Regions from separate parts of the Homo sapiens genome. Here region 2 is linked to region 1. Evidence: promoter capture Hi-C in 16 types of primary human blood cells and fetal thymus (Javierre and others, 2016). All regions are on one chromosome and are shown on one strand. Each heading gives the region's core, a stretch centred on a gene start or on the middle of the fragment in contact. The rest is flanking DNA. Distances are from core to core; before and after follow the strand shown.

Evidence for each region. Contacts are between HindIII fragments. The CHiCAGO score rates a contact against its expected background, and 5 or more counts as called.
Region 2: a contact is called between a fragment that was not itself captured here and the fragment with the promoter of LIN7C in region 1, in 1 of 17 cell types (fetal thymus). The highest score is 6.6, in fetal thymus.

Annotation. Positions count from the first base shown.
Region 1 is chr11:27,505,322-27,508,171 of GRCh38, reverse strand. LIN7C (lin-7 cell polarity scaffold C) reads left to right here and starts at 1,403. Exons shown (of 5, transcript NM_018362.4): 1 at 1,403-1,456. The coding sequence starts at 1,420. It overlaps BDNF-AS (BDNF antisense RNA), which reads right to left and starts at 1,320. Exons shown (of 7, transcript NR_033315.1): 1 at 1,274-1,320. RefSeq lists enhancers at 997-1,286, 1,357-1,486, 643-1,842. The HindIII fragment of the contact is 9,378 bases long and covers 1-2,850 here.
Region 2 is chr11:26,274,637-26,277,343 of GRCh38, reverse strand. It overlaps a transcript of ANO3 not described here. Among named protein-coding and RNA genes, the nearest start is that of ANO3-AS1, 12 kb to the left of the region's middle. The HindIII fragment of the contact is 1,894 bases long and covers 335-2,228 here.

The DNA.
Region 1 (2,850 bases), core at 154-2,653:
ATCCCAGCACTTCGGGAGGCCAAAGCAGGAGGACTGCTTGAGCTCAGGAGTTTGAGACCAGCCTGGGCAACATAGCAAGACCCCCATCTCTACTAAAAATTTAAAAATTTGCCAGGCATGGTGGTGCTTGCCTGTAGTCCTCGCTACTGGCAAGACTGAGACAGGAGGCTCTCTTGAGCTGTGATTGCACCACTGCACTCCAGTCTGGACAACAGAGAGAAACTCTGTCTCTAAAACAAACAAAAAGACTTGGAATCAGGAATAAATATGGTTGAAACTATACTATCTGGACTGAAGTGGTGGTTGCACTTAGTGGTAATGAGAAATGAAGTTAGTTGGATGAGTTAGGGTCAGAGTATGCAAGGCTTTAGAAATAGGAAACAGGAGAGAAACCATTGAAAGTTTCTGAACAGAACTTGTGATGATGAAATCAGAATTCAAGGGGAGAAAAAGGAGCATAGTGGTGGCATCCATGATGGATTTGGAGAAGAAAATACTAAAGGTGAATGGAAAGGGTGGACCAGGGGCAAACAGGTTATTAAAACAGTCCCATCATGAAGTGTTGAAATGCTGGATGTAAACACACCTACCACAGTATCAGTACAGACTAAGGGCTTGGATAAATGTTAGTCAAATCCAAGTACTAAAATTCTTCTTGGTTCGCGAAAATTTCAGAAGTGGCTCAAAAATCTGTAATGCATTAAGAATATTATTTGCTTCACAATATTTCATTTACTTAAGATTTTATAAGAATCAGCTGCTTATAAAATTGTTACTTTGTGGTGCACCAAAGCACCTTGTTCTCTCCCTCACCCAGATATGTTTCATGCTCTTTGTACTTTCCACCCCTTAACAGATTTGGAGGGAAGATTCAAGCCGTGGATTTTTAAATTTAAAGCAATGCTGTCACAAATTGAGAACTGACAACATGTCATTACACATTTAATTGCCACCGAATCCCAGAGTTTAAAAATTGTAAGGACCTAAGAGATAGGACCTCTCGTTGTACAGATGCGGAAACTGAGGCTGAGAGAGGGTAAGTGAACAGTCCCAGGTCACAGAGCTGCTAATGGGCAAGGTGGGACTAGAATCCAGGCTTGACTCCTCTACGCTGAGCCAAGGGTTCGAAGCGATTGGGATAAGGGAAGCCTGAGGCAGGGAACGAGAGTCAGGAAAGCAGCTCTTCCCAACCCTAGGAGGCCGGGGGACCTCGTCACCGCGGAAGGAGCGGAGCCAGGCCGACCTAAAAAGCCGCAAGTCCAGGTACCCTTACCCTGATGGCCGCGGCGACACACTCGGCCACCTTCCTGATCTCGCGATACTAGCCGGTACTCACTTTTCCGGCTTCCCCTAGGCCCCGCCCCCCCACCTCAGCCCTTCTGTCGTCATTTCCTGTGGGTCTGTAGGTTAAGGGAGAAGATGGCGGCGCTAGGGGAACCCGTGCGGCTGGAGAGAGGTGAGTGCAGCCGAGGCTCGGCGGAGGTGGGCGGAAGGGTTGGGGGAGTGCTGTGTCGCTGGAGGGGAGGAGGAGTGACCCAGGCTCTGAGATCCGGGCCACGCTGTCCCTTGTGCCGGCGCCAGAGGCCGCCGTTGTCTCTGTGCCTGGCTCTAGGAAGGGCGCTTACGGTATTTTGTCTGTTAACCGTAAGCCCTCCTCTGTTCACACGGACTGTTCCAAGGCACAGCACAACTAAACACAACCTGCCCGCTTCGCAGACACACGCCGCACACGCGCTCCCTTGGTGAGCACAGCAGAAGCAGCATTCGGAGACCCGTACACCCGAAAAGCAAACGTCACACACCCGGTTCGCACAGACTACACTCATTGCCTGTACAGCACGAGAACGGACACACGGTACAATTCAACAGAACCTCCTTTCCCCGCTGTTTGCACACAAACTCCTTCATTACTTTCTCCACAACCTCGCTTGTATTCGGGTTGGGGTATTTGCTAGCTTTTGTGCCCCTCCTAGAAATGGAGAGGTTGCTTTAAAAACAATCCTACTGACTTGGTCTTGGGAAGGAGGTTACGTAAGTAAGCCGAATAGTGGTAGATGCTAAAACACTTGCAGGTGCAGTGTTTTTCATTTCTTACAAACCCTACAATTGCAAACTGGTTGGCTGATTGCTTCCTAGAGCAGACTGTCAAGGAAAATAAAACCACCTCTGCTGAGTAATTAGAGATAGAGAAGCCTACGAAAATAACTGGCTATGCGCCTACCATGATTTCCAGCATTCCAGCGTTTCCAGTCCTTTTACAGATTTCCAGCATTCCACTCTGTCCCTAAGTCCTTTATTTCAAACAATTTCAAGCATGCTTTTCATACACCAGCATTAGAAATCATTGATAGGAATTGAGAAGTACAAATAAACATTTTGAGTACTGGTGGTAAAAAAAAATGTATATGTAGGATGGAGACTGAAATTATATTGCACATATTAACATTTGCAATTAGTCTAAATATTACTATTGTTCCCTAAGAAAACACATTTTTAGAATTACTGTACTTAGAAAAACCTCTTTCCTAATGCCTTCCCACAAACAAATGTGCACTTAATGTTGCTGATTTGCTCTTTACCGTGTTCACCATTTGGAAGCCTCACTGTAAATGAGATTGTTTCCGTTAAGCCTATTAAAGCATCATTTTAGAGGACTAGCTACTCTGGGAAGACTTGCCGAGTTAGGCCTAAGTCTCTGACATCTTCCTCTTGAGCACAGTGGCACTGTGTTTTATAGATGGGAGCAAATCTGTTTGGTGTTAACAGGAGTAAGTTTTTTCTTTGAAAGCTAGTTAAGATTCTAACGTATTGGTCTTTTGTGTTTTTGTTGTTGCTGTTTGGAGACGTAGT
Region 2 (2,707 bases), core at 32-2,531, 1.2 Mb after region 1:
TCAATGTAGCGTGGGCAATTCTATCTTTTCCTTCCAAATTGTTTTCTCTTCTATTTATATAATGAGAAATATAATGTTTAGCCTTTCACTAAACACACACACAATGCATTACTTACAACTGCTTATTTTTATTAAAATGTTATTCATTTAAATTCATCAAAAATAGTTACTAAGAAAAAAATCACATGAAGGATATTTTGTGAAATAGAGAGATATCTACTTTTTTATATGGATGGATTTATTTCTGACTTAAATTACCCCTGCCCCCAAGTAAATGAAGGTAGAACCAAATTCCTGCAGTGCAATATGAATGGCAGCCACTAGAGGGCAAGCTTACCGCGTGCTGTGATTAGATACCACACAACTGCTTGAAATTAGACCACATTTAAGCAACTAAGGTGACCTCAGAGGAGGTTACAAAGAGCCCATTACTGCAAAAGGAGAGGTCAGTCTCTCAAGTGACAGAGGTGAAATATCATTTGAGTCTCTTTGAAGTCACGCTGACCAATTATACCCATCAAAGCCCAAAAGTAATGAAAACCAGAGAGGTGAAGGATATCATTTTGATGGAGATGACCTTTAGAGGGAGGTAGGAGTAAGGTTAACCAATTTTATTTTTATGTGAAAGAGATAGGAGCATATTTCAAACGCATTGAATTGGCCTTTGAAAGCGTGGTCTAACCTAGTGTATTCCTAACAGAAATAGAACAAAGTGGGTGATGCTGTTTTAACTGAGAATCATGGCTAATCTGCTGAAGTATAACTCCTTAGGGAATATCCATTTTATGGAAGTTTATTTGTTTAGAAACGGATCCCTATTTGAACACCAGCATGACCATCCTAAGACAGCCTGTATGCAGTTAGCCTCATTTCACTTAAAGTGTTGGTGTTTCTTGGAAAGAGCAAAGAGTTATACAAATATCAAATTTGCCTATACAAATGAAGCCAGAGTTTCTCGAATGGGGTCTGATGGGCCCTGATTCAGACTCACCTGGGGATGGTTGCTAAAATTTTAATTCCTGAGTTCTTTCCCAGATCTTCCTAATCAGAATTTTTAAGGTAGAGTTTAGGTATCTGCATTTTTCACAAGAGTCTTAGGTGACTCTTCTCATATGCAACGATATTTGAGGACAAATAAGTATGGTATCTTTTGGGATACCGATATGAAAAATGGGTCAGGAATGGACATGAAACTTGGGCCAGGCTCCAAAGTGCAGCCAAGGGTTAACTGTTTGCTGATATGCAAATGCACATACTTTCATCAAGCAAGCAAGGCCTCCCTTGTGCAGAACACCCATATTTGGCCGCTAACTCTAGTACACATTTTGTGTATATTACTGTATTTTAATCTTCCCCAAACCAGTGAAGATGATAGTGTTATTCCCTTGAACAAATGACAGTGAATACAGCTTCAGAGAGGTTAAGTGACTCATTTAAAGTCACATATTTAGAAAGCAACCAAACGAGAATTAAAAGCAAGATTATTTAATTAAAGTTCTTTAGCTAAAAAGGAGACAAGAAAGGAAAATCTTCAAACATTGATGTGGTTTCTTGTGTTAATTCTCTCACTGTATATTAGTCCTTGGTTATTGGACTAGATGCCAGAAAGCACTTCAACACCACCTTGAAATCTGCTGCACTAGAACATTCACCCTATGTCCTGAGATCTGACCTCCAGAGTTACGCAGGTGAAAAGCTAACCTCTGACCTACAGTATGACTTTAGAAAACAGCATTAACTCCTGCCTCCATCCTCAAAGGAGGGATGAGGACCTCCTCATGGTTTTTCCATTTGGGGGAAATATCCATTTTAATGGATTGCTTTGAATTACAGATGTGTTTGTAGGATTTTATAAACTATGGGCTTCAGCATTTAGTCAAAAGAAGGTCAGGCACCTCATGGCTACCAAACAGAAAGTGAATAAAAATCCTAGAAACATTATTGTAGATTTTTTTAGATTTCTCTAAAGAATCATATTTCACTCTAGTGAGAGTGTAGCCATGAAATACTGTAGCATAAAAATGAAATATGTCTTTATTTTCTCTTCTTTTTAGTGGATTTGGCCATTCCTATTGAGTAAGAAAACATTTTTCAGTAAATTGTATTTCATTTTAGCAGCATGAATCTAAATATGTCAGCTTAAGAACAAATCCAGATTCCATTTCTTCTAAATATAACGCTGGTCAGCCCCACAAATATGTGAATAAAGCAATAAAAACACAAAAGCTTTATAGCAGCATGACCCTTAAAATCAAAGAATTTACAGAAAATTCCTCTGAAATCAATGACCATATTGATAGAGTTAAAGATAAATTATAGCATTTTGAGGTAACCTTTTAAATTTTTTGAGTAATGAAATTAGTATTTTATAAATAAAAAATTAATATATATTTGTTTAAGATAAAAATGGTTTCCTTCTTCTCTTCCCCTACATTTCTCCTTCCTAACCATGCTCATGCTTTGTTGTGTTTCCTTTCATATCCATACAGATAAATTGATAGTTGAAGAAGAGTAGGTATAAATTAAAAAATCTTTAAAAAAATTAAAAATGGTATATCACTGAAGTATCTCTGCTTACTTTATTTGAAGTTTCATAGTTCCAAAGTGCAAAAGGATGTCCTAACCTAAAGCAAAAGTATAACAAAGTAACCAACAGATGGCATTATGTGTCATTTGTATGTAGCCATTTTAGATTTATGAATTAATT